Linked DNA regions of Homo sapiens: regions 1, 2 and 3 are each linked to region 4. Evidence: promoter capture Hi-C in 16 types of primary human blood cells and fetal thymus (Javierre and others, 2016). All regions are on one chromosome and are shown on one strand. Each heading gives the region's core, a stretch centred on a gene start or on the middle of the fragment in contact. The rest is flanking DNA. Distances are from core to core; before and after follow the strand shown. Region 1 overlaps PTPRJ (protein tyrosine phosphatase receptor type J). Region 2 overlaps CKAP5 (cytoskeleton associated protein 5). Region 3 overlaps CKAP5 (cytoskeleton associated protein 5). Region 4 holds the start of MTCH2 (mitochondrial carrier 2).

Region 1 (5,631 bases), core at 2,442-4,941, 520 kb after region 4:
CTCATAGATTTTACAGAACAAACTGTAGCCTTTTGGATTATTTGGTTAGAAATATGGCATCAGGAGCGGCCACTTGCTGTTAGGAGTAATTGATAACAGTTACATTAATAGGATTCCAGGGCATATGCACATGGCCTTCCTTCCCCTCAAAATTTACAAAAGCAAATCCAATTAAATTGTGCAGGCATTCTAGGAAGTCAAGTTTATGTGCTTTTTTTCTTTTTCAAGGATGCTTTGAAAATAGAGGCAGTGCCATGAAGCAGCATTGGTATCTGTTGATGGGTGTGTGCATTGGCATAACTCTCTGCTGTTTATATCACAGGCCTAAACATTAGGCATGTGCTGGCTTGAAGTCTGAGACTATCCTAAGGAAATAATCTGAAATGCAACCAAAGGCTTATTCAGAAAGACGAGTCTCAGCATTATTTATAATAGAGGAAAACTTTGGAAACCATGCAGACATGGTTTTGTAGCTTTTGTAGCTTTTGCAGAATGGATAACTTAACTATGACTCGTCTGCTTATAATATCATTATTCAGCTATTAGAAATGATGGCCCAGGTGCGGTGATTCTAACCTGTGAGGCTAAGGTGGGAGGATCGCTTGAGCTCAGGTTTGAGACCAGCTTGGGCAACATGCTGAAACTCCACCTCTACAAAAACAAAACCAAACCAAACCCAAAAATTAGCCAGGCATGCTGGTATACACCTGTAGTCCCAGCTACTTGGAAGGCTGAGGTAGGAGGATGGCTTGAGCCCAGGAGGTCGAGGCTGCAGTGAACCGAGATTGTGCCACTGCTGCACTCTAGCCTGGGTGACAAAGCAAGACCCGGTCTCAAAAAAAAAAAAAAAAAAGATAAATAAGGGATGGGTAGACTATATAATTACCATGGGGACATGGTAGGATGTAATGTAAGAGAAACATTCTAGGAGATGAAAATGTATGCATATTATGAATAGTGCATAAAAGGAAAGCCGGGAAGTATAGATTCACTGGAGTTGAATCTTGAATCTTTTGGGTGGGTTTTGGGGGTTGATGGGTTAGGGTCTAGTTTATGAGATTATCCTTGAAGATTCCACAAGTCATGGATAAAGTATAGTATATTAAGTAGTAATTCTTTACTAATTGCTGTGTCTCAAAGGGTCTGGCCTCAATATTTCAGTTCCTCCTCTGGAGATGCCATCAAAGCTGTTACCATGATCTGGCCACCTAAATAATGCAGCTCACAGTAGTAGAAAAATGTCATGCTTATTTCTTTTCTTTTCTTTTCTTTTTTTTCTTTTTTTGAGATGGAGTCTCTCTCTGTCATCCAGGCTGGAGTGCAGTAGCACAATCTCAGCTCACTGCAACCTCTGCCTCTCGGGTCCAAGTGATTCTCCTGCCTCAGCCTCCTGAGTAGCTGGGACTACAGGCACCTGCCACCATGCCCAGCTAATTTTTTTTGTATTTTTAATAGAGATGGGGTGTCACCATATTGGCCAGGCTGGTCTTGAACACCTGACCTTGTGATCCACCTGCTCGGCCTCCAAAAGTGTTAGGATTACAGGTGGGAGTCACTGTGCCCGGCCTGTCATGCTTATTTCTATAGATTTTGCTCATTTGAACTGACTGGCTTCTCCTTGGTTGCCTCCACTGCTTGGGGCTTACCTTGTGGAGGGGAATTTAGGATGGAGTTGTCCACATCATTTTTAAAAATTGCTGTTACTATGATTATTATTTTTTATTAACTAAACTCCAGACTTTATTCAGATTTCATGTTTTTCCACTAAAGCCTTGTTTTGTTCCTGGCTCTGATCCAGGACACCACATGGCATTTAGTACCATGTTATTTTTTAATTATACAAAATGCCTGAATACATTTTCCTTTAGAAAATCGAGAAATTACAAACAGAGCTAAAGATTTCCTTTGACTACCACCCCTAACCTGAGCCCCTTTGCCCCTCCACGAAGATAATACTAAGTATAACCCTCCTCACTTCTCCCTCTTCCTCTCCCCCTCCTTCTCCCCTTGCCCGCTCCCACTCCCTTTCCTCTCCCTCCTCCCTCTCCCTCCTCCCTCTCCCTCCCTTTTTCTTCCTCTTCCCCCACCTCCATCTCTCACAGCTGGTTTCTGTCTTTGGATCAGTACTTCTGGTTAAATGTGTGAATGTTAACTTTATCTGTGATGAGGTCTTCTAGCACCTCTCCCTTCACTCTGTCTGTTTTTCCTGTTTTCCAAATTTTGAATACTGCACATTCTTATCATGAATATACATTTCAAAAAATGAGTGTCAAAGGGCAGCTGTCATAATGGAGATGGAAATGCCTGCAGTGCAGATGTAGGTCACATGGGTACGGATGTAGGTCACATGGGTATGGTCATTCCCTGGTATGGGCATAACGAGTACAGCTGAGTCAGGGACAGGACTCGCCCCAGCTGGGGTGGGCTTCTGGTGCTTCAAGGTATATGCTTTGGTATGAGGTAGGGAACCAGTCTGTGTAATAATGAGCTCTATTGTCTTTCAGATGTTGAAATGGATGGTTTTTTGGGGGAGTCCTTTCTCAGCTCTCTCCAATTCTAAATATTTGCATGGTGCTTGCTAGTGGCCTGTCACTTTATTCACTTCTCTAGGGGACATAGTGAATTATGAGGCCATTCTTGCCTAGAAGGCACTGATTATCATGGTGTATTTGAGTAAATTATTTTTGGTTTTATTGTCAGTGACATTCCCAGGGGGGCTCGGGGATGGGGCTCATGCAGCTCTAAGGAGGTGCAGGTGTAAGAATGTGAGTTCATTATTGATAGGCAGCTGTGGCAGGAAGGGAAGGATCTGAATGCAGAATTGGAGGATGAGGGACTTCTGTTGCATCTGAAATCAGTGTTGGGGAAATGACTTCACTTCTGTGAATCTCTGCTGCCTCATCTTTAAAGGGGGATAATAAACTCTCCTTCTTGAGCATATTGTGAGGGTTTGATGAGCAAGCACTTTATCAGCTGCTGTGCAAATGTAAAGTTTAATTTTTAGTCATTACAACTCCTGGTTAGTACTCAGGCTCTGCTTGATTTCCCCTGCCTTTTTGATGTTGTTAGGCAGCCTTTCTGTCTGGATCTAAATCATTTTCTGGGCTTTTAGATCCAGACAAGTGAGAGTCACCCTCTGAGACAGTTCCATTTCACCTCCTGGCCAGACCACGGTGTTCCCGACACCACTGACCTGCTCATCAACTTCCGGTACCTCGTTCGTGACTACATGAAGCAGAGTCCTCCCGAATCGCCGATTCTGGTGCATTGCAGGTACGCAGATGGCACGTCACGTGTGACAGATTTCAAATGTCATTATATATTTATGAGCACTTTACAAAAGCAAAGCCTAAGAGGGAATGTAATAGGCATTTATGAATTCAGGAAAGGTTTGGATAAGGAACCATGGACTTACTCCCTAAGCCCTGAGCTTCCAAAACAGGGGTTGGCAAACTGTAACCCATGGATCAAATCTGGTCAGCTGCTGTTTTTGTAAATAACATTTTCTAGGAACACAGCATGCCCATTTATTTATATATTGTTTATGGTTGCTTTTCTGCTACAGTGACAGAAAGAGACCATATGGTTTGCAAAGCTTAAGATGTTAACTATCTGGCCCTTTACTGAAAAAGTTTGCCAACCCCTAACAATAAGAAGTTAGCTTTGAAGCTAAAGGAATTAATTTAGGACAGAAGACAGGAGGGGCTCTGTTGCCCAGTGGGGAAAAAATGGCTAAAATGTGCCGCCATCCTGGGTTATGGGCAACTTGAATGGAACTGAGATTGAAGAAGCTTGAGCAAAGGGTTATATGTGTGGCATCTGACTCAAATGTGAGTTTGGGACTTAGGCCCCAGTCCCAAGCTAGTGCTGTCTGACTTGCTGAGGCTTCAACTGAGCAAATGTGTACTGATCCTGTGCATTGCCCTCAAAGTGTGACAGTGAAGGAAAGCAAGATATATGTACAAATGAGGAACTCTAAGAGGGTTGCAGTCGAGGGAACCCACTGTAATAGGCTTATTTCTCTTTTCTCTCAGTGCTGGGGTCGGAAGGACGGGCACTTTCATTGCCATTGATCGTCTCATCTACCAGATAGAGAATGAGAACACCGTGGATGTGTATGGGATTGTGTATGACCTTCGAATGCATAGGCCTTTAATGGTGCAGACAGAGGTGAGGCCAAGATCTGTATTTGACATTCCACCCTTCCCCTCCATTTTTTTTTTTTTTTTTTTTTTTTTTGAGACGGAGTCTTGCTCTGTCGCCCAGGCTGGAGTGCAGTGGCATGATCTTGGCTCACTGCAACCTCTGCCTCCTGGGTTCAAGTGATTCTCCTGCCTCTGCCTCCCAAGTAGCTGGGATTACAGGCACGCACACCATGCCCAGCTAATTTTTGTAATTTTAGTAGAGACGGTGTTTCTCCATGTTGGCCAGGCTGGTCTCGAACTCCTGACCTCAAGTGATCTGCCTGCCTCAGTGTCCCGAAGTGCTGGGATTACAGGCATGAGCCACTTTGCCTGGCCCTTCCCCTCCATTTTTAAAAGGTTGCATTGTGTCATGCACTTGTGTTAAAATATGTCACCCTTCCAGATCTTTCCAGCTCTTGGCTGTGAACTAACACTGGATTTCTTTGCAGACTTTAAGCTGACTTGGAATTAAATTACCCAATACAAGTGACATAGTAGTACTGATGTCAGTAATGGAACTACTACTGAGATAGTGTCAGGATTCTTTACCTTGCTGCCTCTGACTCATTAAATAATCTTAGGACATCTTTGAACTTTGGCTTCCAGGTTTTAAACTCATAAAACTGGTATTTTCCAGTCTTTGTTTCTAAGAAGGTCTGACCATCTTTAAAATAAGCTAATGAAACAAACTCATCAAACATTAATGATGTGACATATCATAATGCTGCTTAAATGTTAATACAGCAATTTATCCTCACCCAGACTTGTACATTTTAAAGACTATCAATTATCATAGCTACAGAAGGGTGGCTGACCAGCGGAGAAAAGGAACACTTAATATCTATGGTATAGTTTCTGTACTACTGCTGGATTTGGTTTTACCCAAACTGTTACTGAGAAGTGTTTTTGAGGCATGTTTTCAACAGAACATATTGCAAAGTTGCTTTCCTCAAAGGGGTGAATGTTCCTTGACCAGGATGAGAGCAGAATATTAATTTTGTATCAGGCTATCGTCCTGTACCGATTTAGAACTCTATGAATATGTGCTGTGTTTTTGAGTCTAGCAGGGAATGTTCTAGATGCCTGGGTACATTGCGTGCTCTGGGGTGAGCTTGGTGGTTGTTGTGGAAAGAGTGAAATTCAACTCCTGTGTTGGTCAAAAGAGAGATTTTCTTTTTTCTGCTATAATTATATAAAGTAGTATTTCTCAATCTTTTATCCTTTTTTGAGAAACATAGAACTCTTATCCCTGCTACTAGAGTCTAATCTCTTTTTTATATTTTGAAAACAATACTTATTCATATGAAAGCATTTGACAATATATTTTTCTCTCCTCTTTTTTTTTTTTTTGAGACGGAGACTTGCTCTGTCACCGGGCTGGATTGCAGTGGTGCGATCTCGGCTCACTGCAACCTCTGCCTCCTGGGTTCAAGCGATTCCCCTGCCT
Region 2 (5,700 bases), core at 2,427-4,926, 820 kb before region 4:
TGAGAAATCACCCTGATGAAACTGCCCCGTCTCCAAAGTATATGCTGTTTTTTGGTTCTATTTTTGTATAATCATTAGGTAGCTTTATATTACACTGTATATTAATTTCAGCTAGTAGATTCCGGACATTTTTACTGAGGTATTCTTTTTTCATTAATTTATTCAACAGGTGTTTAATAAATAAAAATCAATTCAGCTCTGGCCCTTGTGGAGCTTACACTCCAGCAGGAGGGGACATTAAGCTATAATACAAATAAATTTAAAATTAACAAAGCATTAAGTACTACAAAGGAGAAGCAACTTGGTGCTATGAAAGTATATATTATAAAAGGCTTTGTCTTAGTGTTAAGAAAAAATTTCCTGAGAAATGGTAATTGAGCTGAGCCCTGAAAGATAAATAGGAACTAATCAGGAAAGAGTGGCAAAAGGGGAGACAGAACATTCCAGAAGGAACAGTATACTCCAAGGCCCTATGGCAGCAGGGAATATGGTATTTCCCACTCCTATAAAGAAAGAGAAGGGGAGTATGGTACAAAGTAAGCTGGAGAGGATTGGAAAAGGCCAGATCATGCAGGACTATGAAGGCCAAAGAAAAGATTCCACTCATTATTCTAAGAGCAATGGGAAAGCAATGAAATGATTTGGGGGCAGTTAAATGAGAAGTTAGTTTGTGGGATGATCGAATTTGCATTTACTGTGTTAAGCATTAGTAAAGAATTAGATGTTTGTCCTCAACACTATTAGATCAAAGAGACAGAAGGATCAACATATGATTGAAAAACAGAAATAATTTACATGTTATTTGTTTAATGTAAGTAAAAATGTAATTGAAAATGTAATTGAATTGATTCAATTAATGTAATTGAAAATGTGATTTGGGGCAGGTGCTATGCTCACAGAAAAAACTCTTCCTTCTAAGGAAGGAATGCTGCCTAACCCACTATAAGATGCATTCATTAGGAAGAAGGCATTACCTATTCTGCAAAATTAGAGTGAAGTATAACATAAATTAACATCATAGTTGAACATTTACTAACCAATTTAAACCAGATTTATTTTTTTATTTTTTAAAATTGGGCAACATCTCATTCTATAAAGTAGAATGAGTGTTCCCTAAACAGATTTAACATCTCTATGCTTTAAGTTTCAAAAACACACAATAAATGCTCAAAAAATGGGAAAAATAAAGTACCAAATCACACGAGATTGAAAAACTCTTAGCACATATTAACCAATCAAAAATCGGAAAGTCTAAGATTTATCTATATTGTCTGCCCCTTTCAGTGAGAATATACAATATCTACCAAAAAAAGCATTATAGTTAACGATTCTAAATAAGTTCCAAAATTCTCCCCCAATTTTTGTTGCAATTTAATGTACTACATAACCAACAATTTCTATGCGAATTAGAATAAAAACCAACTAGCTCACTTTTAATCTGGCCTTATTTGAAGAGCTACATGTTGATTTTTGATACAGTATTCGGCCTTGGCTAATTTATTATATAGGATGAAGGAGTGGTTCTGTGGAGGATATAGGGACCATGGCTCCAAATTTCTACTCTACATAGGTAGAACTGTATGTATACAACTGTGTAAGTTAGTATATTTTATTCAGTATTTTTAGTAATCAACAACCATAAATCTTGAATACTCAGATTCAAAACAAACTTTAAAAGAACTGTCAAGAACATAAAGTGGTAAACCTGAGGACTTGGAGTAGAATAAATTTACAAGAAGAAATGAAATTCTAAAATCTACCAGATGGTAGATGTTTGTTTAAAATGATTAAAAATGAAAGAAACTAGAGGTATAGTTGGGGAAAAAATAAGATAATCTGAAAGGATGCCCACCAAATAATGACATGATGTAATAAATTGTATCTTACTAGCATAAACTAGAAAATAAAGATTGGTAGATTCTGAGGGTAAATATTGGAATGCCGATCATATAAATCAGAGAACCTAAAAAATGCTGGATTTCTAAGGCCAAATTCAGAACACATCTCAAAAGAAGAGTCTCTATATAATAAAATATTAGTAAGTACTTAGGTACCAGAAGTATATTGTACTGTATATACAAGGAGATGAAAAAACTAGCCAGTTACTTTTCATAGATACCACTTACTTTTCACTTCACTAATATCTTTTCTTTGAATTCTTTCCAGAGACAAAAAAATTTTTAGTTGAGCTACAGAAACCTATTTTCAATGAGAAAAAATAACATATCTAACAAGGCATCAGTATTTTTGAAACTGCCAATGTTTTCACACACTTCTAAGTAAGATGATAGTATAACTGCTCACAAAACAAGCCAACGACACTGAAAATCGAATTCCAGAAGAATCTTACCTTGTGTTCACATTTCTGATCAACTGGCAGTTTCAACCACTCACTGTCATCTCCCATTGTGCTTCCAGGTTTTCCTTAGAATTAAGAGTATTTCCTGGTCAGATAAAGGTAGAAACCTGCTTAGCAACCAGGCAGTCTCTTAAGACAAAAATAACTTTTCTGAGATTATTATTTTATCATTCATGCAACAACAAGAGTAAAAATCCCGTTCTTTCGTCAGATCCCCACTTAATTCAATTAACAGGACTTTTTTTTTTTTTTTTTTTTTGAGACGGAGTCTCGCTCTGTCACCCAGGCTGGAGTGCAGTGGCCCGATCTCCGCTTACTGCAAGCTACACCTCCTGGGCTGACGCCATTCTCCTGCCTCAGCCTCCCGAGTAGCCGGGACTACAGGCACCCGCCACCACGCCCGGCTAATTTTTTTGTATTTTTAGTAGAGACAGGGCTTCACCATGTTAGCCAGGACAGTCTCGATCCTGACCTCGTGATCCACCCGCCTCGGCCTCCCAAAGTGCTGGGATTACAGGCGTGAGCCACCGCGCCCGGCCAATAGAATTTTTTTTTTAAAGTCACTCAAAAGACAGGACACAGTGGTGGCTCATGCCTGTAATCTCAGCACTTTGGGAGGCTGAGGTGGGCAGATCACCTGAGATCAGGAGTTCAAGACCAGTCTGGTCAACATGGTGAAATCCCGTCTCAATTGAAAATACAAAAATTAGCTGGGTGTGGTGGTGCAGGCCTGTAGTCCCATCTACTCGGAAGTCTGAGACAGGAGAATCGCTTGAACCTGGGAGGAGGAGGTTGCAGTGAGCCAAGATTGTCCCACTGCATTCCAGCCTGGGCGACAGAGTAAGACTCCATCTCAAAAAAATAAAGTCACTCAAAAAATATAAATATAAATATATTGCAGTCTGGGCAACATGGTGGAACCCCATCTATACTAAAAACACAAAAATTAGCCAGGCGTAGTGGTGTGTGTGCCTGTAGTCCCAGCTACTCGGGAAGCTGAGGTGGGAGGACTACTTGAGCCCAAGAGACAGAAGTTGCAGTGAGCTGTGATCATGCCACTACACTCCAGCATGGGCAACAGAGCAAGACCCTGTCTCAAAAAAACCAAAAATTTGTTTTCTAAAAAATGATGCTTTTATTTTCCCAAATAAGAACTTCTTAGATATAAAACGAAGCTGGAATAAAACTGAATTGCTGAGCTAAATGGCCTTTTAAAAGGCCAAGAAAAAAGTTTTGGAAAAAGTCATACTTTCACCTAGAATTACTTATAGAAAATAATCAATATGGGGGTCGGGTGTGGTGGCTGACGCCCGTAATCCCAGCAGTCTGGGAGGCCGAGCCGGGCGGATCACGAGGTCAGGATCGAGACCATCCTGGCTAACACGGTGAAATCCCATCTCTATTAAAAACACAAAAAATTAGCCGGGCTTGGTGGCTGGCGCCTGCAGTCCCAGCCACTCTAGAGGCTGAGATAGGAGAATGGCGTGAACCCGAGAGGCGGAGCTTGCAGTGAGCCGAGATCGCACTGCACTCCAGCCTGGGCAACAGACTCCGTCCCAAAAAAAAAAAAAAAAAAAAAAAGAAAGAAAAGGAAAGAATCAATATGTAAAAATGTTGATACTGCCAAGCTCCCTAATTCTAGCAAACATGACTAGTCAATGTTTATATAAACAAGTACAAAATTAAATCCCTGAATGAACCTTTATACATATTCTTTATGTAAACCATGTTTTTAAGTGAGGTTTAAAGTCAACATCCTTTTAATAACTTTATGCTACCTATCTTCTTTTTTTTGAGACAGCGTCTTGCTCTGTCGTCCAGGCTGGAGTGGAATGAACACGATCTTGGCTCGCTGCAACCTCTGCCTCCTGGGCTCAAGCGATCCTTCCACCTCTGCCTCCTGAGTAGCTAGGATTTGGTGGGACTGCAGGTGTGCACCACCATGCTCGGCTAATTTTGAAATTTTTTGTAGAGACAAGGTCTCGTTATATTGCCCAGACTGGTCTCGAACTCCTGGGCTCAAGTGATCCCACTGATCGTGAGCCACCGCACCCACCCCTATGCTATCTATCTAGACAACACCTTTTTCTTATAAAAGTAATGTGTGTAAACTGCAGAAAATTTAGTAACTACAGAAAAAAATCTAAGTATTAAAATACAATTTTACCACCACCTAATAACCATGATGAACACTAAAGTACGTATCCAGTTTTTTTTCAATACACATGTAGTAATATAAATCATATGAAAAAGACAGGCATAATCCCCTTACAACATTTTTGTTATATGATCACAAACATTTTCCCAGATTTGAGAATATGATGTTTAAAGTCTACATAGCACTCCATTTTACAAATGTACCATAATTACCAACCCTACCATTGGACATTTAAATTGTTTCCAATTTTTCTTTTTCATTTTTGAGACAGGGTCTCACTCTGTCACCCAGGCTGGAGTGCAGTGGTGTGATCACAGCTCATTGCAACCTTGATGTCCTGGGCTCAAGTGATCCTCCCAACCTCCGCCTCCCGGGTTCAAGTGATTCTTCTGCCTTAGCCTCCCAAGGAGCTGGGACTACAGGCACATGTCACCATGCCCAACTAATTTTTTAGTTTTTTGTAGAGATGGGGTCTTACTATGTTGCCCAGGCTGGCCGATTTTTCAATATTATTAATAACATAGAAGCGGTCCTCCGTAATTCTCCATCCCTAGTTCTGGCCTGACATAAAATATGTTTTCAATAAATATTTGTTTATTGAATATATACTCTGGTAATATCTATTCTGAATCAGGCATGGTGCAAAGTACTTTTTAAACACGCTAATTCACTTTATACTGACATCAACTATGTGAAGGAAAGATATTCTCATTTTACACACTAGCTTCACAAATATTAAGTAACCTGCCAAAACAACAAAACTGGTAAGCAATGAAATTAAACTAAGATTCATAGTCTATGCTTCTTCCTTTACATTTTGTTCCCTCCCATGGCAAAGAAGAAAATGTCCCAGAGAAAGATGGAATTGTAAAAGTTTATTAGGATATGTGGAACTTTCATTAAGATTTTTCTTCAAAATCCCTAGGATTGCCATGAAACAGCAGCAGTGTAATTTAAAGGAGTCAGGAGAATCTGCAGGAACTCAAATACACCAATGATGGGAGACAGAATAGTTTAACAGTCTGGAAAACAGTATGGCATTATCAGATACACATGCCCTACCACCCAGCAACTCCATTCCTAGGTGTATAGCCTAGAAACTGATGCAAATTACACCAGAAGACCTATATAGGGATAGTCATAGCAATGTTGTTCATAGTAGTCAAAAGCTGGAAACAGTTCA
Region 3 (5,297 bases), core at 2,000-4,499, 840 kb before region 4:
TGAAAAATTATTCCCAATATAAAAGTGTAAAATATCCTAAGTAATATAAAATTGATCAAAATGGCATATACACATCGATATTATATAATATTGATTGCTATAAAAATAGATTTTAATTTTATTTCAATTTATGATGTATATGTCTAAGGGTTTTACAGACCCTTATTTTTATTTCCCTAGTAATAAGCCAGTCATGATTTATTTTTATTTGGTAGTGTCTTCTTTTTCTTCAGTTAAGTTCTCTGAGATTATTTTTAATGCTATGAGTAAGCAAGCTCCAAATACCATAGCTCATGTGAGGCTAGGTATTAGCTTCACAATATAAAATGGACACATGACTAGGGACTATTAGGAAACTCCTAAGTCAGTCTAGGGAATCAAATGATGAAGGGGCTAGCAAGCTAAACTCTAAAGATCAATAAGGTCAATTTTTAGGATGCTGAGCCATTCTTAGTAATGCAGACCGGATTTAGAGGCCAAAGGACAGATGCCACAGTTAAAGAAAACATCTTAATTAAAATTATTACCAAATTTGATTGGAAACAAACTTATACAAATAGTAAGTCAACAAATGTCTCCAGTCAGATTTTCTTTGAATAAGTAAAACGGAGATAACCTATATAAAATATATAACATTGTAACCTATATAAAATGTCTCAAATATGTAAGTAAATTATATATTAAAATAGGAAAACAATGTAAAACACATTTTATATATTAACCTCACAGTTTTACATTTATAGTTTTACATTGCCTTTCCGACTCTCATTTTCATTCTGGTCCTGGTCGTTACAAGTTTTGTTTCATCTTGTTATGATGTGTATAATGTTGTAAGAACAAAGCAAGATACTAGTAAGTAAATAAGTAATAAGCAAATAAATAAACTCAACTAAGTACTTTAGGCCTAGTGCCTGACTTTCTACATAAGGCCTATAAATTTTGTTACAACTGACATCTACTGAAATTTCTAAGATATATCTATGCTGAATATTAACAAAACAGAGAGAAATTTACTTTGTACAGTATATACACATCTATGCCAAGGAGTTGTTTTAAAGCAAACAGCAAACTAGGCCTACCATTTTTGATAAATTTTGTTGATCTGTATCTAAAAAGGAGTGTTACTTACATGTCCTGCATATTGTCCAAATTTCTTCCTTAGCCCAACAGCCAGGCCAGTAAGACATTTTGCTGCCAAAGCCACCAACATGACATTGGTGTCCTTTCCAACAACCTACAAAGGGGGGTAAAAAGGAAAACAAAATAGTCACAGCCATGTAGAAGGGTATTGAAATTTTATTCTCAAAAGAACTCTGAGGCCGGGTGCAGCGGCTCACACCTGTAATCCCAGCACTTTGGGAGGCCAAGGTGGGTGGACCACCTGAGGTCAGGAGTTTGAGATCAGCCTGACCAACATGGTGAGACCCTGTCTCTACTAAAAATACAAAAATTAAGCAGGCATGGTGGCAGGCACCTGTAATCCCAGCTATTTGGAAGGCTGAGGCAGGAGAATCACTTGAACCTGGGAGGCGGAGGCTGCAGTGAGCCGAGATTGCACCATTGCACTCCAGCCTGGGCAACGCAGCAAGACTCCATCTCAAAAAAAAAAAAGAACTCTGAAAGCTCTTATGCTAATATATGACCAATTTTATTTACTACAACAGAGGAGAAATTCTTCTTTCATTGTATCGAATTTGGGAGCTTCCCTTCATTATGTTTAGTCTTCTATCTTAAAGTTCTACTAATAAAACATAGATAAAACCACAACATCAAATTGCTCACTATCCAGTAGTGGCAGTCTGGGCTGTCAGCACTGTTCAACTGTGCAGGAAATGACCCTGATAATGGCAGAGAGACGAGAGGTCTGCTGACTTTGCTTTGGGACAAGGAAAATGAAAAGGCAATGTATCTCTGAAAGACATCACAGGGCAACAGCTCTAATATTCATAACCAAGAAGCACCAGTACAAACGGCTGCAGGTACCTTCAGGAAGTCCATGGGGACTCTAAATTGTGAATGCTACTGCATTCTTCTGAGAACCATTCTTCTGAGGGAGCTTCTGGCCTTGAGGCTGCCACTTCAGTCATCTAATAATGGTTAAGCTTCAATTCAGAGTCTCAGTCGATTCTCCTCTAGCACTGCTTATATTACTGCCCTCCTATGCCACAACCCACAAAGCCCAGCACTTATCTAAACTCACGGGTAGTAGCTGCATCTGTGTCAATTTAACAAGATACTGACTACGACTGGGTTCCTTCCTGGTAAGATTTTACTGTGGTACACTGCCCAATCAGTTGGTGTTAAAAAGCTGCTTTATTATATAATAATACAGGCAGTGTGACGTGTGCCTGTAGTCCCAGCTACTTGGGAGGCTGAGGCAAAAGGATCACTTGAATCTGGGAGGCAGAGGTTGCAGTGAGTGCAGATCGCACCACTGCACTCCAGCCTGGGTACCAGAGCAAGACAGACAGACAGACAGACAGACAGACACACACACACACACACACACACACACACGGCTGCTTTATTTATAAATGCACACACACACACGGCTGCTTTATTTTTAAATGCCCCCAACTCTTCTTTTTTCACTCTTTTCCCAGTAAGAGTAATGCCTCCAGTCTACTTTGAATTTTATCTAGTCCCTACAATGTGGTGTTCCATAAGCAGAATGCTTTATTCTAGATTCTCTGCATTAAACAACTCCTAACATGCAACATGAAAGAAGTTCTACTTGGCACTTATATGCACTCCTTAAGTGCTGAGGAATAAGGATAAAGAAACTAACATTTATTGAAAAAACAAATTAGGCACCAAAATTTTGTAGGCACTTTATAATCCTTTTTAAGTTTAATTTTCACCCAAACCCTATGAGGTAAGGACTATTATTATTTCAACTTTGCAGATTCACAGCCAGGCATGGTGGTTCACGCTTGTAACCTCAGGACCTTAAGAGGTTGAGGTGGGAGGATCGCTTGAGCCCAGGAGTTCAAGACCAACCTGGGCAACATAGCGAAACCCTGTCTCTACCAAAAATAGAAAAATTAGCCAGGCATGGTGGCATGCGCCTGTAGTCCCAGGTACTCAGGAGGCTGAGGTAGGAGAATCTCTTGAACCTGGGAGGCGGAGGTTGCAGTGAGCCAAGATCATACCACTGCACTCCAGCTTGGGTGACAGAGCGAGACACTATCTCAGAAACAAAAAAACAACAAAAAAGTGCAGACTTCAAAAAGATTTTTTTTTTGAGACAGAGTCTGGCTTGATCTCAGCTCACCGCAACCTCCCCCTCCCAGGTTCAAGCGATCTTCCCACCTCAGCCTCCCGACTGGCTGGGACTAAAGGCACATGCTACCACACCTGCTAATGTTTCTATTTTTTGTAGAAACAGAGTTTCTTCATGTTGCCCAGTCTGGTCTTAAACTACTGGGCTCAAGCAATCAGCCCGCCTCGGCCTCCCAAAGTGTTGGGATTACAGATGTGACCTACTGTACCCAGCCAGATTCTAAAAATTAAATAAAGATTAATGTGCTTACAGTCAGGTAGTTAGCAAATGGTAATGCTGTGTGATTCAAACCCAGGTCAATTCTGACTCCAAAGTTTTTGCTCCTTTTATTAAGTAAAGCATGTTCTCCCTCTCAACTTGTGTTAAGTTCACTTTTCCTTACGAGAGGATGAGATCAGGGTCCTAATAAACATTTTGTTAAATCTCTAATTACTGTAAGTCTATGAAGAAAAAAATTTTCCATTCATTTCTGTATTGAAATCACTATTGGTATTTATAAATGTTCTGATTATTTTTCCTTATCAAAATACCTCTCAGATATGATTTAGATGCTAGGCTTTATATTTAGCATCTAAATATATATTCTAGGAATGGACATCAAAAACATGTAAGATCCCATTCCAACAAATTCTAGTTCAATGAATCTGGGATGAAATTTGGACATCAGTATTTTTAAATGGCTCAAAGGGTGATTTTGTCATATGGGCTCAGTTAAAAAACTATCATTCTATTCCTTTCTTAGGAGAATACCTCTCCCTATCCATTGTTGGAACAGTAACCAGTGGGAGCTAGACTCTAGACACTCATGATCTTATTGTATAGTATTGAAGAAGATACTGCGAATCTGTTAAATTTCAAGATTGCAAAGGCTCAAATAAACTTATAAGTGAGCAATGGACCAGATACCCTAATATAATACCTGCCTGTCACACTCATTGACACTCATTGTTTATTCCCATAAACAAGTTATTCTCAACAGGGAAATGAGAGTAGGGAAGATGGAGAAGTGTTTATTTTTAAGAAAAGTAACATATGAGGGGGGACTCCATTTCAGAGGTAAGAAAAACAATGACTTCTGTCTTTTCAGTAATTTCTGTTCTAGACCAGGGAATGGAAGCTTTAGCTCATAATCTCAATATAATTTAAACAATAGGAAATCTTGTACAGTTTTAAGTGCTGTCACTTTTCTCATAAATTGAGGCCTACAGTATTAAAACAAAGTGCTTTAAAGTAATTATCAATTGGTATTTATCTTTAACTAGAAATTAAAGCCACTAGTTAATAATAACTAAAGCACACCGTTGACAGAGGAAAGGAAACAAATTAATGAAACCCATTATGAATTACTGTGTTTAGAAAACTATGATGAAAACAAGCAATAATTAAGGGGGGAAAAGTAGAAAGAACAAGTGAAAAAAGATTAATACCACATAGAAGTCTAAAGATTATATAAGAAAGCACTTCGAAAATCCAAATCTTAATGTAAAGATAAATAAATTATATATATATAAAAAATCAAATGTCCATAGGCATAGGCACATGACAAAATCAAAGAAGCGATGAGCTGGGAGGGAGGCATCTTATAAATAAAAGAACTATAGGCCAGGCGCAGTGGCTCACGCCTGTAATCCCAGCACTTTCAGAGGCTGAGGCAGGCAAATCACTTGAGGACAGGAGTTCAAGACCAACATGATGAAACCCTGTCTCTACTAAAAATTAAAAAAAAAAAAAATTAGCCGGGCATGGTGGCACGCGCCTGTAATCCCAGCTACTCAGGCGGCTGAGGCAGGAGAATCGCTTGAACTCGGGAGATGGAGGTTGCAGTGAGCTGAGATCGTGCCACTGCACTCCAGCCTGGGTGACAAAGCGCAACTCTGTCTCAAAAATAAATACATCAATTAAAAATAATAGAAAAAAAAGAACTATAATCTGTGAGAACAGGAAAGCCCACAGAATATGCTAAATCAGGTGACAACTCAAAACAGTTTAAAAATAATTTCAGGAATATCATAAG
Region 4 (5,900 bases), core at 2,934-5,433:
TGTCTCTACTAAAAATACAAAAAATTAGCCGGGCGCAGTGGCGGGAGCCTGTAGTCCTAGCTACTCAGGCTGAGGCAGGAGAATGACGTGAACCCGGCAGGCGGAGTTTGCAGTGAGCCCAGATCGCGCCACTACACTCCAGCCTGGGCGACAGAGTGAGACTCCATCTCAAAAAAAAAAAAAAAAAAAAAGAAAGTGTTTTTCAAGAGGAAGAAAGGACAGGGTTATAAATGTATCTTTTAAATTGCTCTTGATATTTAGAACAAACTATGCATAACAGGTAAGCAACATCTATGGGAAGATTGATTTAATTTTCCTCTTACCTGTAAAACTTTACCATGGACCACAGTTCCAAGGACTCCCGAACACAGTCTTGGAGTTAAGCCTGTGAACAACCCGCGCCTCCCATCGATACTGGCAATGTGCTGAGCTAAGAACACAAGTCAGAGATGTTGTCAAGTTCTGGTCAAGAGAAATGGATATACTACAATTTCAAAGAAACAAGCTTTCTATATATTTTCTTTCAATAACAACTCCTGCCTATCACAGTCCTCAACGTCATGCAAACCCAAATAAATCAAAGGCACTTACCATAACTAAAGAGACCAGGAAGCTGACACACTTGCCGCCCAAAAATATTTCGTCCTATTGTTGGAGGAAGAGGCTCATATCCCACCTTTAAAAACAATGGAATATATCAATATTAAAGCAATATTTCCAGAAATGTCTTGCTTGCAAGGTCTTGAATAAAGAACACAATTTGGGTTATTTTTAAACACAAGTAAAAATGCAGCATAGGTTTTCCAAGGCAATGATGAAGCATCATTCTTGTAGGTTTTTCTTCTGTTGGTAATACTGAGTTCAATAAACTCCAAGTTTCATTTTGGTTCAAATTCTATGACGTAAACCATGTAGCTGAAATAGGCTAATATCAAACTGAAAGAAGGGAACTTTTGCGTTAGGAAAGCTACAGTTTACTAAGGGGGCTCAAAAATACCTTCTAAATAAAATCTAAGGCACATTTTGTATTTGAACAAAACTAGAAGACATCCATTACGCCAGCATCAGCTGCATATTTGGCAACCCAGACAAAACACTCAAAAGGCAAATGCAGATATAGCTGGATAATTCACTTAGGAAAGAATTACAAGCTAACTTCATGTTAGAAGAACAGGCTGTCGGTCGGGCGCAGTGGCTCATGCCTTGTAATCCCAGTACTTTGGGAGACCGAGGGGGATGGATCACCTGAGGTCAGGAGTTCGAGACCAGTCTGGCCAACATGGTGAAACCCTGTCTCTACTAGAACTAAAAAATTAGCCGGGCGTAGGGGCGGGCGCCTGTAATCTCAGCTACTTGGGAGGCTGAGGCAGGAGAATCACTTGAACCCGGGAGGCAGAGGTTGCAGTGAGCCGAGATTGTGTCACTGCACTCCAGCCGAGGCCGACAACAGCGAGACTCCATCTCAAAAACAAACAAACAAACGAACAAACAAAAAAACACAGGCTGTCATTAACAGCTAATGAAGTCCATTTTATATAGTTAATGATTACCATGGTCTTTGTACAATATACCCAGGATTTTTAACACTACAGATACTTGACAGAATGAATGCTGTAGGACATAGTTTTGATTATTGTTGTGACTCTTAATCTGTCCTATTAAGTAACTCCTGGGCTGGCGTGGTGGCTCATGCATGTAATCCCAGCACTTTGGGAGGCCAAGGTGGGCGGATCACCTGAGGTCAGGAGTTCAAGACCAGCCTGGCCAACATGGTGAAACCCTGTCTCTACTAAAAACACAAAAATTAGCCAGGTGTGGTGGCGGACACCTGTAATCCCAGCTACTCAAGAGGCTAAGGCAGGACAGTCGCTTGAACCTGGGAGGCGGAGGTTGCAGTGAGCCGAGATTGTGCCATTGCATGCCAGTCTGGGTGACAAGAGCAAAACTCCATCTCAAAAACAACAACAAATAAATAAACAAATAACTCCTGTCTGAGCTCCCTGAAAGTGCTACCAAGTAACCATTTTTATTTTTATTTAGTTACTTATTTATTTTTTGGAGACAGAGTTTCGCTCTTGTCGCCCAGGCTGGAGTGCAGTGGCACGATCTAGGTCACTGCAACCTCCATCTCCCAGGTTTAAGCCATTCTCGTACCTCAGCCTCCTGAGTAGCTGGGATTACAGGCACCCACCACCACACCCAGCTAATTTTTGTATTTTTAGTAGAGAGGGGGTTTTGCCATGTTGGCCAGGCTAGTCTTTAACTCCTGACCTCAGGTGAACCGCCTGTTTCAGGCTCCCAAAGTGTTGGGATTTACAGGCGTGAGCCACCGTGCCCGGCCCAAGTAACTATTTTTACAACTGAGCATTTGGGAATTTCACCAAAACTCCTGGGCTACTTGGCAACACATAGATGTTGTGAAATCAGAATTAAGAATATTCAAAGTTTTTGGGGCAAGAGCTCTGAACATCATTAGAAAACCCCGTCTCCCAGAGAAGTATTGAGTAGTGGGTTCTTTTTTGTTTTGTTTTGTTTTTTTGAGGCTGAGTTTTGCTCTGTTGCCCAGGCTGGAGTACAATGGCGCGATCTCGGCTCACTGCAACCTTCACCTCCCGGGTTCAAGCGATTCTCCTGCCTCAGCCTCCCGACTAGCTGGGATTACGTGCACGCACCACCACACCTGGCTATATTTTGTATTTTTAGTAGAGACGGGGTTTCACCATGTTGGTCAGACTGGTCTCAAACATCGACCTCGTGATCCGCTCACCTCGGCCTCCCAAAGTGCTGGGAAGGCGTGAGCGAACGCGCCCGGCCCCAAGGGTTCTTACTATATACTGCAACATGCTGTCACCTCCGATGCTATCTAGCCCCAAATGTGCCAATTCTGTTTTGGATGTTACAGTACATTCTAATCAGTCTTTGTTCTAAGTACAAAGAATTTATTTGCAATAGCCTTTAACATATGGAATCTGAATTCACACAGGTCTACTCAGCAAGAAATAATTTGGATTCCCAACAACTCAAGAATAAGAAATGGGGCCCTCTCTAGTGTCTTGCCTATTTTTTACAGAAAAGTAGACGGCGAGACAGGGGTTCTAAAAACTGTTCCATTCCTAGGCACAGTGCATGAGGTAATTATGTCAACTCTCAGTAAAAGCATAAAAAAAAGAATGACCTGCCCATTACAGGGATATAGCAAAGGAACTGGAAACACTAAGTCTATCACTTACTTGGCCTACCTGCATGTGAATATAAAATACCATGTAATAATTATTTGACAGTAGATTAGAAACTAACTCCCATGTTTAAACTCGCTAAAACTCAGCTTCACTAATTTCCAGCTCTGACAAATGTGATTTTCATTGTCAGGAGCCACATGGGCCGCTGCTGGAAAGCGCTCAATGCATCCTTCCGAAATCTGACAGAGCAACCCCTTCATTAACACTTCTGAATGAGCTCCTTGTGTTTCTCTCAGTATCTGGTGCGAAAACCTCGGAACAGAAAAGCAGTAGTAACAGTAGCATAAAAAGAAAAAAAAAAGGAATAAAAAATAAAATGTTGGTTCCCACCTAACTTCACATTTGTCTTCAACTGAGTATTTCGTGTTTTGCGTCTGAGATTTTGGGGGGAGTAGTGGTGAATGTGAATTTCGGAGGGGCGAGAGGGAGGGTTCGGAAGCCTTTGGTGGCGACCGGCCAGGATCCACCTCAGTGACGAAGAACCAAAGTTCAGAGGATCCGCCGGGCAGGGCAGGGCCGGGTGGCGGTTGGCTAAGGGAGGAGAGGGCCTCAACGCTGGGCGGCGAGGCGAGGGCTCGGCGAGGCCCCCAAGCGGGGCCGCGGGACTGAGGAAGCTGTCCCTGCGGGGAGGTAAAGGGCAGCGGAGGAGCAGCAGCATCTCGGGAGAATGAAAGGCCCGCAAGGCTGAGCCGATCCTCAGGCGCCCTGAGCAGCAGCGACCGAACGGGGCGCCGGGCGGGGTAGGGAGCGGCGACGCCTCATACCTGGATGAGCACTTTCACGTACATGAGCGGCTGGGACAGGATGGTGAGACCGGAGCCCAGGAGCACCTGACTGGCCGCGTCCGCCATGATGGCACCCGCGGGCGGACGGACAGACAGACGGAGCCACCAAGCGACCCGGTGAGCCGGTCCTAGGTCACGTGCCAGGGCCGCCGGTTTCACTGGCCCGCCCGCGGCGCGCGCGCACGCACGCAGCAGCACGCGCCTCTCCGCCCAGTCCCCGCCCCCCCGTCCCGCCCCGAGAAACGGCAGGCGCTCGCGAGGGGGCGCTGAGGTCGGGGCGGGGCTTAAGGGACAGAGGCGCATGCGTTCTGCCGGGGGCTCGCCCTTCACCAGGAATGACGGTTTCTCTTGCACATGCGCTTCCAGGCCGCAAGTGTCCGGAAACAGAAGAATGGGAGTGTCAGTGGGGGAGTGTGACCGTGACGGCAGAGGCAAGGTCAGAGGACTGAAAAGAAATTGAAAAGGATTCTTCATTATGCTTCATCTCTGCACTTGCCTTTTGGGCATCATCAACATAGGATTCAAAAGATACTCAGCATCAGAGCCGTAACAGTCTCGTGACTGACAAACTCTAAATAAGTATAGCAAATAATGAATCCGCTAGCGAGTGGCTTTTCATTCATTTATTCGTTTGATTAATGTTATCTTTTCAAAAAAACCTTCTCTGACCATTCTAAAATTACCTCCCCCTTTTCTTTTTCTTTCTTTTTTTTTTTTTTTTTGAGACGGAGTCTCGCTCTGTCACCCAGGCTGGAGTGCAGTGGCCCGATCTCAGCTCACTGCAACCTTCGCCTCCCAGGTTCAAGCAATGCTCCTGCCTCAGCCTCCCTAGTAGCTGGGATTACACGCACACGCCACCACGCCCGGCTAATTTTTGTCTATTTAGTAGAGACGGGGTTTCACGATGTTGGCCGGGCTGGTCTCAAACTCCTGACCTCGTGATTCACCCGCCTTGGCCTCCCAAAGTGCTGGGATTACAGGAGTGAGGAGCCATCGCGCCTGGCCACCTCCCTCTTATTTTCTCCCACATTGTGCCCCGTCGTAGCATTATCACTGAAATTATGTCTCCTCCACTGGAATGAAAGCTCCATGAGTTCAGGAACCGTGACAGCCTCTGTTCACGGTTGTGTTTTCAGTGCCCAGCACATACGAGGTGCTCAATAAATATTTATTGCACAAGTGAACAAATACTTCAGTGCCTACCAGTCTACAGGCTATCAGAGGCAAAAGTGAAAAAGGCATTGTCCCTGCTCCTTCAGCCCCAGCTCACGTGTTCTATCAAACAACATTTGGTGAATCTGAGCTTGGAGCAGAGTGAAGTACTGTAGGGGAAAGACTTGGATTTGGATCCTGGCTTTTCCACTGCATCCATTTGTCATTTTAGCTACTTTAATTTCCAGTTTTTGTATCTAAATCTAACACTACTGTGTATCTCTCAGGGTTATTATGAGCATTAAGTGAAATTATGCATAGGAAAGGGTTTTTTTTAAAAAACTTTATATTGAAATACAGATATTGGCTGGGCACGGTGGCTCACACCTGTAATCCCAACACTTTAGAAGGCTGAGGTGGGTGGATCACCTGAGGTCGGGAGTTCAAGACCAGCCTGACCGACATGGTGAAACCCCATCTGTACTAAAAGTACAAAAATTAGTTGGGTGTGATGGCGGGTGCCTGTAATCCCAGCTACTCGGGAGGCTGAGGCAGGAGAATCGCTTGAACTCGGGAGTTGGAGGTTGCAGTGAGCCAAGATTGCGCCATTGCACTCCAGCCTGGGTGACAGGGCGAGACTCAGTCTCAAAAGAATAAATAAATAAAAAATAAAGTTGTAAGAAACAAGTTGCTTCTAACTGAATCTAGAAACATAAAGCTGAGC

Evidence for each region. The method cuts DNA at HindIII sites, captures the fragments that hold promoters and counts their contacts. A CHiCAGO score of 5 or more calls a contact.
Region 1: a fragment that was not itself captured here is called in contact with the fragment with the promoter of MTCH2 in region 4 in 1 of 17 cell types (total B cells); the score reaches 5.0 in total B cells.
Region 2: a contact is called between a fragment that was not itself captured here and the fragment with the promoter of MTCH2 in region 4, in 1 of 17 cell types (monocytes). The highest score is 5.5, in monocytes.
Region 3: a contact is called between a fragment that was not itself captured here and the fragment with the promoter of MTCH2 in region 4, in 1 of 17 cell types (monocytes). The highest score is 7.2, in monocytes.

The regions. Positions count from the first base shown.
Region 1 is chr11:48,160,346-48,165,976 of GRCh38, forward strand. PTPRJ (protein tyrosine phosphatase receptor type J) reads left to right here. Exons shown (of 25, transcript NM_002843.4): 23 at 3,113-3,273; 24 at 4,035-4,170. Among named protein-coding and RNA genes, the nearest start is that of OR4B1, 54 kb to the right of the region's middle. The HindIII fragment of the contact is 196 bases long and covers 3,594-3,789 here.
Region 2 is chr11:46,818,825-46,824,524 of GRCh38, forward strand. CKAP5 (cytoskeleton associated protein 5) reads right to left here. Exons shown (of 44, transcript NM_001008938.4): 2 at 2,351-2,444. The coding sequence starts at 2,407. Among named protein-coding and RNA genes, the nearest start is that of CKAP5, 25 kb to the right of the region's middle. The HindIII fragment of the contact is 8,913 bases long and covers 1-5,700 here.
Region 3 is chr11:46,800,071-46,805,367 of GRCh38, forward strand. It overlaps CKAP5 (cytoskeleton associated protein 5), which reads right to left. Exons shown (of 44, transcript NM_001008938.4): 9 at 1,130-1,234. Among named protein-coding and RNA genes, the nearest start is that of SNORD67, 40 kb to the left of the region's middle. The HindIII fragment of the contact is 2,298 bases long and covers 2,101-4,398 here.
Region 4 is chr11:47,638,376-47,644,275 of GRCh38, forward strand. It overlaps MTCH2 (mitochondrial carrier 2), which reads right to left and starts at 4,184. Exons shown (of 13, transcript NM_014342.4): 1 at 4,004-4,184; 2 at 592-676; 3 at 324-430. The coding sequence starts at 4,090. RefSeq lists a silencer at 4,105-4,374. The HindIII fragment of the contact is 6,217 bases long and covers 504-5,900 here.